Linked DNA regions of Homo sapiens: region 1 is linked to region 2. The links are contacts of gene promoters, found by promoter capture Hi-C in blood cells and fetal thymus (Javierre and others, 2016). All regions are on one chromosome and are shown on one strand. The core of a region is centred on a gene start or on the middle of the fragment in contact, and the rest is flanking DNA. Distances in the headings are between cores, read along the strand shown.

Region 1 (4,723 bases), core at 2,189-4,688, 180 kb before region 2:
AAAAAAAGCCATACCTGGAAGTATACTCCTCAAGCACTGAGCCATGCTACCTGGGCAAGGGGGAAGGAGGAAGATTGGAGGAACTGATAAAGGGGACTTTAGTCTTCTCTATAAGTTTATTTTTAAAGAACATTATATCACTTGTGTAATTAAAATTTAAATTACAAAGAAGAAATGGGATCAGAATGCAGATAAAGTGGGAGTGGTTTGGAGGGCTATGCGGGGTGGTAGATGCCAGCGGGGAAAGGGGAAAGTAGAGAACACGCACAGAGTCCTCCAGCTTTCATTACACACCTGCTGAATGCACGTGCAAAGGGGGATGGTGGAACATCACGGAGCTGGAGGGCAGGCAGGGGCCTGCTGGCTGAAGCTGGAAAATAGCATAATGGTTGAATAGACTGAAAAGGAGCACAATACGGAATCCAGGCTGAGAAGCTTGTACCTGGGGAGCAGGCAGTGGGAAGTATCTGTGGGGTCTGGAGCAAGGGAAGGTTGAGGCACAAGGAGTATTTTAAAAGATTGATTTGACAAAAGATAGGTGAGAAACAGGGAGCCTCCCGAAGGCTGTTGAAGGCACCTGGACATGCAGCTTGAAACACCTGAGCTGTGGGGATGCAGAGAGAAGAGTAAACCTGAAAGACAGCTGAGAGCAAACCATGGCAGGAACTGATGAAGGGGAGGGGTGTGGTCAAGATCAGCTCAAACCGTCTAGCCCAGGAGCCCCGAGGAACAGGGAGTGGTACCTCAGAATGTAGCGTTCTAGGCCATAGTTGGACATCTGGGTGGAAATGTCCAGTTGTTGAGTTGCATGCAGAGGAAGGTCTTCTAGTTTCCTTCTGAGAGGGATTAGCTGAAGCCACGAGAGTGTACAAACTCCCCAGCAATGTGAGTGATGTCAATGTGGAGAGGGAAAGACAGAGTCAAGAACTGAAGGAGGAGAACCCACTTGCTCAGAAGTTCAGCACTGGCATTTGAGTCTCCTCCATCAGATGCTATTTACTAGGTGCAGGTGCCACTGAAAGAATTTTATTTATTTATTTATTTACTTATTTATTTTGAGACAAGCTCTTGCTCTGTCACCCAGGCTGGAATGCAGTGGCACAATCTTGGCTCACTGCAAACTCCGGCTCCCAGGTTTAAGTGATTCTCCTGCCTCACCCTCCCGAGTAGCTGGGATTTCAGGCGCGCGCCACTGCATCTGGCTAATTTTTGTATTTTTAGTAGAGACAGTTTTGCCATGTTAGCCAGGCTGGTCTTGAACTCCTGACCTCAAGCGATCTGCCTGCCTCGGCCTCCCAAAGTGCTGGGATTACAGGCGTGAGCCACTGTGCCCGGCCTAAAAGAATTTTATATCTACACCAGGGAGGCCTCTTTCTTTCTTAAGAAATAATTTTTAAAACTAAGGGAGGCCCACAAAGCTATGTGCATTATATTGTAAGAATGCTTTTCCCTGGCAGTCTGCATTCCACTGCACTTTCCTGTTTGAATAAGCCGAGAGCTGTGACACAGAAATGACTGCTGTTTGCACTGGCTGGGCTCTCCAGGAAGGCTTCTCTCCTTTCCTTTGGAAGCGGTTACTGACTAAATGATGATTCTTTGCAGTGGTCATGAGCCTTGCAGTGATCCTCTTGCCTCAGCCTCCCAAAGCGCTGGGATTACAGGCATGAGTCACCATGCCTGGCCCTTTTTTAATCCATTTTGACCTCATGCATCCCTTCCAAGAAGAAAAAAGAGGAGAGTTATGCCTATTTTTTCCCCTCTAGGTTTTTTCATTTGTGAAAAAAGTAGAGTAAGTTATTTTGCCAAGATTGCTTGGTAACTGATTGAAAGAAATAACAAATACCTGAGGAAAGTAACAGACACTTACTAATTGCCAAGCACTGTGCAAAGAATTGTATCTGCATCATCTCATTTATGATTATCCCCTTTATAAAGAGGTCACTGAAGCTTCCTAGGACAAACAGGAGGGAGCAGAGCCAGCACTAAAGCCCAGGTGGTCTGACAACAGAGTCCCTCCTGCTTAACCACGCACTACATATAATAAGGAGGCAGCTTTCATTCTTTTATAATTTAGATTTTTTTGGTTGACCTTTTGTACTAGTCTGTGTTCTTCAGAGAAATAGACCAATAGGATATGTATGTGCATGTGTGTAAAATACGTATTATATATATATTATATGTAATATACATTATAATTCTATATATTATGATATACAGCTAATTGTTATTTTATATATATTATATATTCATATGTATAATATATTATATATTCATATATATTACATATTCATATGTATAATATATATTATATATTCATATGTATAATATATATTATATGTTATATATTCATATGTATAATACATATTATATATTGTATATTCATATGTATAGTATATATTACATATAAATAAAATAAGAAATTAGCTCATGCAACTATGGAGGCTAAGTCCCAAGATCTGGAGTGGCAAGCTGCCCCAGGAGAGCCCATGTTGTAAGTTCCAATCCAAATGCCAGCAGCCTCAAGACCCAGGAATAGCCAATGTTTTAGTCTGAATCCAACATCAGGAAACAAATGATGTCCCAGCTCAAAGGCAGTCAGGCAGGCAGGGGGAATTCTCTCTTACTCTAGGCAGGGTCAGCCTTTTTGTTCTATTCAAGCCTTCAACAGATCAGATGGGGCTAGCACACATTAGCAAGGACAATCTGCTTCCCTCAGTCTACCGATTCAAATGTTAATCTCTTTCAGAAACACCTTTACAGACACACTCATAATAATATGTGACCAGGTGTCTAGGCACCCCACAGTCCAGTCAAGTGGACAGATGAAATTAACCATCATATCCATATTGTTCCCTAGAGCTACTTTGATGGATAGGGGCTATGAATTTGTTTGTTCGGATTTTTTTTTTTTTTGGTCTCTTCTCTCTGAATTCCTCTTCTTAGAAAGAAAAGTCACCATGAGCAGACAGAGAAGAAACTCATGCCACCTTCATTTGGCGACCAGTTCCCAGAAGTCGTCTGGCAGAGACCATGTGATCTTCTTTCAGGGCTGTGCCAGGGAGACCCCTCTACTGGATGGGAGCCTAGGCTACAGGGTCAAGAATTGTCCAACTCTGAGAGTCTGTGTACCTTGATAAATTTGCTCTTTCTGTGTCCTTTTCTTCTTATTTTATGTGAAGGAAGCTTCAGAGCTCAGTGATGGTGAGGCATTTGTTTTGGCTATTCAACTTCTTCCCCAAACTGGAAGGGTATTTTTTAAGGGTGTAGTAAAGTGCAGTCTAAGAATACAGCCTTTGTCATTAGTCAGAACCGAAGCTAAATTTCAGCTCTGCCAACTGCTAGGTATGTGAGTGAGTTCCTTAATCTCTGTAATACTCACAGGATTGTTGCAGATCGAAGTGTTAATGTATAAGAAGCAAGCACTTATGATGGTGCCTGCCAGGTGGTTAGCATCAAATAAGTCTTCACTGGTACTGTTATAACAGAAGGCAGGCTCATTTCACCTGTATCAGTCACTGCCTACAGCCAATAATCAGGCCAAGAGGTCCTTTGTTGCCACCTAGTGGCCATTAATTGCACTACACCACATAGCTAAACCTAACTAAATGCAAATACAAATGCAACTTAGGTGTCTAAATGAAAGAAAAGGCAGGGTAAGATTACGTACGAGTGAAACTACCACCTTCACCCTAGGAAGCTTGATTTTTAGCCTTCTGCTGCTTGGTGACAGGAGCTGCCTCCTCAAGAAAGCACTGATGCATGCACAACGAGATGAAGAACATTTTTTGTTATAAATTGGAAAGTTTATTTTATTATTTTTTTAGAATCTATTTACAAGATTAGTAAAATGTATGGAAAGGTGGGTAGAGAGATAAGCATGTGTTCGGATTAAATAGACCACAGGCCAATGCAGCATGGAAGAAAAGACTTCAGTGACGGATTGTCTGGAGCCCACACAGGGGTTTTCAATAAAATCCAGGCCAAAGTGCCTTGGGCACACTGTGTTGAAGGTTTTAGCAAACTCGAGCAGAGAGCAAGCTTCCAACTCACCTCACTTCCTTCCTCCCTTGCTCCCAAGCTCCACAGAGACATCGTTTAGGGAGAAAATAGTTAGGTAGTCTCCTTCCATTTCTCCAAATGTCAAAGTGAAGTCCAACAGAAAGCAATTAACAGATGTCTGCCCAGCAGAGAGTGTGGGAGTACCAGTCAGCAATGAGCACAAGGCATATCTTAGCATATCACAGGGTGGCCCCATTTACTCCCCATTAACCAGCTAAAAATAGCCTCTCTACTTCCTCAGCTTTCTGTCTTTATTAGAATCAGTCCCAACAGTTTAGCTCTTTCCCCCTGAAAGCTTCCTTAAACAAGTGGCAAGTGAGAGAACTAAATGTGGACTCCGCTCAGGTGCAAATTTCCCCAGGGAATTTCTAGCCCCTCCCTGCAGGTAACCCACCACCAACTATTCCTAAAATCTTACCCCAGGCCCCACTCAGCCAGCCCCCATACCAGAGGCAGGATAATAACCAAACTGTCCCTGGAGAGGGACCAGAGTTGGTTGTCGGGGAGAGATTATATGTGGTTAGATAGCAAGATCTTATTTGTGACATTAAATGAGCAAACCATAAAGCATCTAAAATGATTAATTTCTCACTGGCGCTGTCAGTGAGCTGTCATCAACTGACAGTTATGTCATAAGTGTCATTTTTAATGTCACAAGTCTATT
Region 2 (5,478 bases), core at 2,166-4,665:
ACTTCCCAGTTCTGGATCCTAACCAAGAAATGTCTCAGGGAGAGGTCCTCCCAGCTCCTCAATACATGTAACAAAGCTGTAAACCTGGATCAGGAGAAGGCTGGTGATGAAGTTCCAGTCTACAGGCACCCCAAGGGCCATCCCCATTATGGTCATGGACCCTGATGTCCCCAGCAGCTTCCTGGGAACACACTGCTTCCCTACAACACACTGTCCTTACTGTTTCACCCCCAAGAGTCCAGTCCACTCCAAATGTTGTGCAGTGGAACCTAGGTAGCTTATCTTTTGGTGTTCTTCCCCTATAGAAATAACCGCGGTTGATTCAACAGACCTTTATTGAAGACCTCAGGCACAGTGCTAGGCATGGAGGGGAAGCTGCAAAGTTAGATGAGCTTATAAGCAGAATTTAGTCAGAGAGACCCATACCTAACTCTAATGCTAACCACGTGTTAAAACACTTTGGAGAATTTCAGGTCTTTTATCTTTTTCTTCAAAAACTGAAGATGTGGCAGTTAGTTTTGGGGCTGGAAATTTGAGCAGAGAGAATGGCAGAGTCTTTTCAGGAGCCAGAAATGCATGTGAGGACCAAGAACTTCTAACAGTAGAGGAACTCTGGCTGGGGTAGTTGAGGGGGAGGAGAAATGAGGATCAAGGGGGCATACAGTGCATGAAAACAAAAGGTGAGGCCCAAGATCAGCCAAAGTGAGTAAACCACGGTTACCATGGCTACTCTTCAGTGGAGACGGAAGGAAGCCCTGTATCCTCCCCTTCCAACCACACTACGCTGTTCCACTCCCCATCTCCATCTCCTGTACCCCAGACACACTCAGGCAAGCACAGCACCACCCTGGATGACTCTGCGGAATGCCTCTCAGAGACACGGAACTAGAAACCTAGGGGAAGAGGGACATCAAGGCTTTTGCCTCACAAGCTGACTCTGGAACAAAGAGCCAGGCTGAGGGGCTGGAAGAAGAAACTTCCAGCAGAGCCACCCAGATATGCTTCCCCCACCCTCTAGACCTTCCACACCAACCAGTGTCCAGTCAGTCCACAGAGCATCCTCCTGGGCTGTGGTGACTGAAGTTGAAGGGAAGAAAATATAATAATAATTTTGGGCAGGTCGTCTTTCTTTACTGTATTGGATGGATATAGAATCAATAAATCTATAGGTTTATCCCATTTTTCTGAACAAATTTAGAGGTCAAAGATGAACCCTCAAGGGGACAGAATATGACCAGCAGGACTATTGATATCGTCTGCCCTAGGCACTCCTCCTTACCCTCCTCTCCCCTATATTTTGGGGGCAGTCATATTCCTCAGCAGTCAGTTGCTCTGCCTCCAGTCCTAACTGGCTTCTGAAAAACAGTTCTGGTCCATTCATTCCCTGTCTCGAGACTTCCGGAGCTTCCTGACCTGTGAATGAAATCCACAGGCCCATCACAAGATGGCTGCGCTCTCCAGTCCCCGGCACCCCAGGCTGCTCTGAACATGTGAGAGCTCCTCCCTCAAGGCCTGAATTTTCGCAGGTCTTCATCACACTCAGCCCGCCATCATTTTTTCAGATTCAGTTCCAATATGTCACTCTGTCTGTAGAGCCTTCCCTGAATCTCACAGACAAATGCGGCAGTTCCCTTTGTGGGGGATATTCATCATGTTTTTCCTCATTGGCCTATGTTTTTGCCTCTTCTTGTAGATGTCCATCTAGGCTGGGAGCTCCTAGGGGGTAAACGCAGCCTCTCACTCACCTGGCACAGAGTCGATGCTCATGGAATGATACGTGATGGGGAGAGTGAGTAAGTGAATGAATGAATGAATGCTATTCTGGAAGGAAGAGGGAGAGAGGGAGCAGGGAAAGGTCAGAAGGGGGCCCAGAGTCTTCAGCACACAATGTGGGTGTATCACTGTGGCCAGGAACAATTCGCTTCTCTGCCTGCATTACTTTTTGGGAAATGGGAGAGCTGAGGCTCAGTGTAGGCAAACTGGGTCCAGTCAGCAGGGAAGCCATGAGCTCCACGGTTTAGGGGAGGAGTCCGGTGCTTAAGGAAGCTATCACGTGGAAGATCTCCCTGCCCTCCTCCTATTGGTCTGTATTGGTTTTTCTTCTTCACCAGTGGAGGCTTTTCTTCTCCCAGGAAGAATCCAGAATAGTTCAGACAAGCTTCAGGTCCGCCAGAACCGGGGAAAACAACGTGTAGGGTTTGTTTTAAAGGGCTTTTAAATGGGGTTTGGGAGATCCAGGTAGATTAGAATCTTGACTCTGCACTGGCTGTGCAAGACAGAAATTCACCTTTCAAAACTTCTGTTCCCCAGTCTATGCGGTAAGAAGTTTAGATTAGCTGATTTCTAGGGAGATTTTGGGCAGGCATGATTCAGTTCCATGAAGGGCTGTGGGACAGGACTGCACTAAGAGGTCCTATAGATTGGATTCTTCAGTTCCCTCCCTTCCGCTGGAGAATAGAGGAATCTGCCTTCGCTGCACACTAGATTTACCTGGAGAACAAATGGAAAGCAGGCCAGGATCCTGGGTGAAATGTGGCACATTTGAGGAGACTTCAACTTCCCTTGCCCTCCAGGTGTGCACTTGGAAGGGGGAACGAGGGAGGGGGAAGCTGGCAAGATGGGCCGAGAGATAGGGGAGGGGCAGGAGGCGGAGCCCAAGTTGCGCATGGAAGCGGGGGTGGGGTAAAATAATCAAGTTTATAGACCGCCCTCTTTAAAGTTACTAATGAGCTTGCCTTCTCTTTCCTTAATTTCCCCTCGCAGTGTGGTCTTTTCCCCACCCCCAGACATGAAAGGGAAGCAGGTCACAAAGCCTTTCGGATTATAAAAGAAACACTTGCTTCTCACAAGGGGAGCAGCAGACTTACTCTGTACTAAATGCCAGGATAAGCCTCTGGCTGGGCCTCGACTGTGACCCTCCGGCCTCTTTCTACAGCTCTGCCTGGATGGACTGGCCTATCTCTGCTGGATTCCCGAAGTGCATTGTGTAGAGACAGCAACTCAGGTCAGGCTAAAAGCTCAAGCAAGCAAGCGCGCACACACACGCGCGCACACACACACACACACACACAAACACTCAGCTTCCTTAGGACAAGATAAAATCTTAGCATTCCCCTCTCCCCGATTAGGTAGGTCTCTGGGAGGACTAAGGCTTCAGGTGCAAGGCTCAGATAACCTGCAGTGTCTCTCCAACTCTGGGATGACAAAGACCTCACTTCCCTTTTCTGGTGTTCACACAACAATGAGAAAGTACGGGTAGCCTGCAGAAAGACCTCTCCATTCATGGTCCCCCAGGGGTGTGGGTTCTGAGAGGTGGGACCAGCTGCCAGGCCCTTTCTCCATTGGTTGAGTTCAGCAGGTAACCTGAAGCTTTGCTGAGAGGTGCATAAATAAAGAGTGAAACTAGTACCACCTCCTTGAAATGGGCTGAGTCCCTCTTGCTCACCCTTGACTTGGAAAAACCAGTTTCTCTTTTATTGTCTGTTACTAATCTCTATTCTAAAAATTCAGCTCAATTCTCAACCATACTCCAAACTCTCTCTTTTCCAGCTACCTTTACTCCCTCTCCTTCAATTCCACTTTCCTCTGCTTACTTTTTTTTTTTTTCTGACAGGGTCTCACTTTGTCGCCCGGGCAGGAGTGCAGTGGCTCAATCTTGGGCTCACTGCAGCCTCAACCTCCCAGGTTCAAGCGATTCTCCTGCCTCAGCCCCTCAAGTAGCTGGGACTACAAGCGCACACCACCACGCCTGACTAATTTTTTGTATTTTTTTGTAGAGGCGGGGTTTCACCATGTTGCCCAGACTGGTCTTGAACTCCTGAGCTTAAGCAATCCACCTGCCTCGGCCTCCCAAAGTGTTGGGATCACAGGCGTGAGCCACCGCATCCGGCCTCATGTTCTTTTTCATTAAAGAGAGAAATCAACTATTCAGGACCGGCCCCCACCTTTCCTCAGGAGTCATTTCTGTTCCGCACAGGCCTGCTGAACTGGGTGCTTTATATAGGGTAAGTGTTTCTCATTTTTTGTTCCCTGTCCTCAAGCCTTAGGGGCAAAAGAAACATCCAAGATTTGAAATTTCTTTTCTTCTTCTCATCTGCATGGCTGTAGCCATCTCTCTGTTCTGCATTATCTTATGACAAAAAAAAAAAATTCTTATTTTGAAGCAAACTCAAAGCTAGGTCCTGATGTCTCAAGGCACAGGTACTCGTACTTAAAGGTGAGTCTGAAATCTGTGGATTTGGGGAACTTTGGAAAAACAAAGATGAGTGGCTAGATCAGGGGGCTCATTGGGCAGGAAGAGGAGACTGGAAAATGCCATATTCACTGCAAGTCAATTATCAACTTCCTCCAAGGCTAAAATAGCTGAACCTGCTGCATTTTAAACCAATCCTCAGCCACTTTGGTGTTTTCTCAAGGATTTCCAGGGATCCCAGGCAGTAAATTCTGCTGATAATAGGAATTGGTGTGATAAGGTGGGTGCTGAGCAGTTTAAGCACCAAGATTGTAGCTCTGTCTGGTTTTGTGGAGATTTACTCAACTAGAAGAACAGAGATTTGGCTGGTTTTTCAGTCCTGGGGTGCAGGGTGCACCTGTACTGGAAAATTTAGGACGTGGTTTCATTCTTTGAGTCTCATGTTCAAGTTGGTTTTAATGTTATGAAGACACTTGGGACGTAATCCTGAGGGCAGCTGGGGGGAAGAAAGTGGTCACTGGATGGACTTACCCTGTAGCGAGCCCATGCATGGTTTGTTCTCTGATCGTGCATGTGCTTGGCTCTAGACCCATGTAACCATGGTGAAGGCCACTGGGGGATTCAGTTGGCAAAGGCATAGTGGGCAGAAGAATCTTGAACAAGGAGTCCAGAGCAGGTCAAGTCTCCTGATACAGGTTGTGACTCATGGTTTTTTGTCTCTGCCTGTAGCAGCTACAGGTCTGTAAAGCAAGGGGAGAGTGATAAGGAAAGAACTCACCTTTCTGGGGCTCTCTGACATTAATGCCACCTCCCATTTGCTTTTTGCAGACACTGTCATCTCTCAAGTACCCATCTTGGAGGGTACGGACCCCACATGAGGGTGAGGCTCTCTGCACACTCCAGAGTGAGGACTTTAATAATCTAGTGGACTGTACATGTTGGGAGGGGAAGAGCGGGGTGCCGAGGGTCTGGAGGGAGAAGAATTGACTGCCCCTTTTGCTCTTGGAGTTAAGCAGAAATCTAAAGAGAAGGCAAAGAATCTTGCCTTCCTGGCATCATTTCCTCCTACCATCCCAGGCCATCATTTATTTATTACAGCCAACAGACTGGCCTCTTTCTTCCCTTTGACTGGGAATGGGTCAAAGGCGGTGCAGGAGGAGGATCTGGTCCAGATAATTCACAAGCAGGGTGCATTTTCCTCTCATTATTGAGAACTGTGAGTGTTTATCAAGAAGGCAGAGCAGGAGAAGATGAACCAGTCTTCTTCCCCTCACTACCCAGATCTC

What was found. Contacts are between HindIII fragments. The CHiCAGO score rates a contact against its expected background, and 5 or more counts as called.
Region 1: a contact is called between a fragment that was not itself captured here and the fragment with the promoter of MIR205HG in region 2, in 2 of 17 cell types (M0 macrophages and M1 macrophages). The highest score is 5.1, in M0 macrophages.

What each region holds. Positions count from the first base shown.
Region 1 is chr1:209,245,297-209,250,019 of GRCh38, forward strand. The region is part of intron 2 of LOC105372896 (a long non-coding RNA gene); the gene reads right to left. Among named protein-coding and RNA genes, the nearest start is that of LINC01696, 78 kb to the right of the region's middle. The HindIII fragment of the contact is 514 bases long and covers 3,182-3,695 here.
Region 2 is chr1:209,425,405-209,430,882 of GRCh38, forward strand. MIR205HG (MIR205 host gene) reads left to right here and starts at 3,416. Exons shown (of 4, transcript NR_145437.1): 1 at 3,416-3,684; 2 at 3,777-4,004; 3 at 5,021-5,072. RefSeq lists an enhancer at 2,414-3,337. The HindIII fragment of the contact is 6,862 bases long and covers 3,368-5,478 here.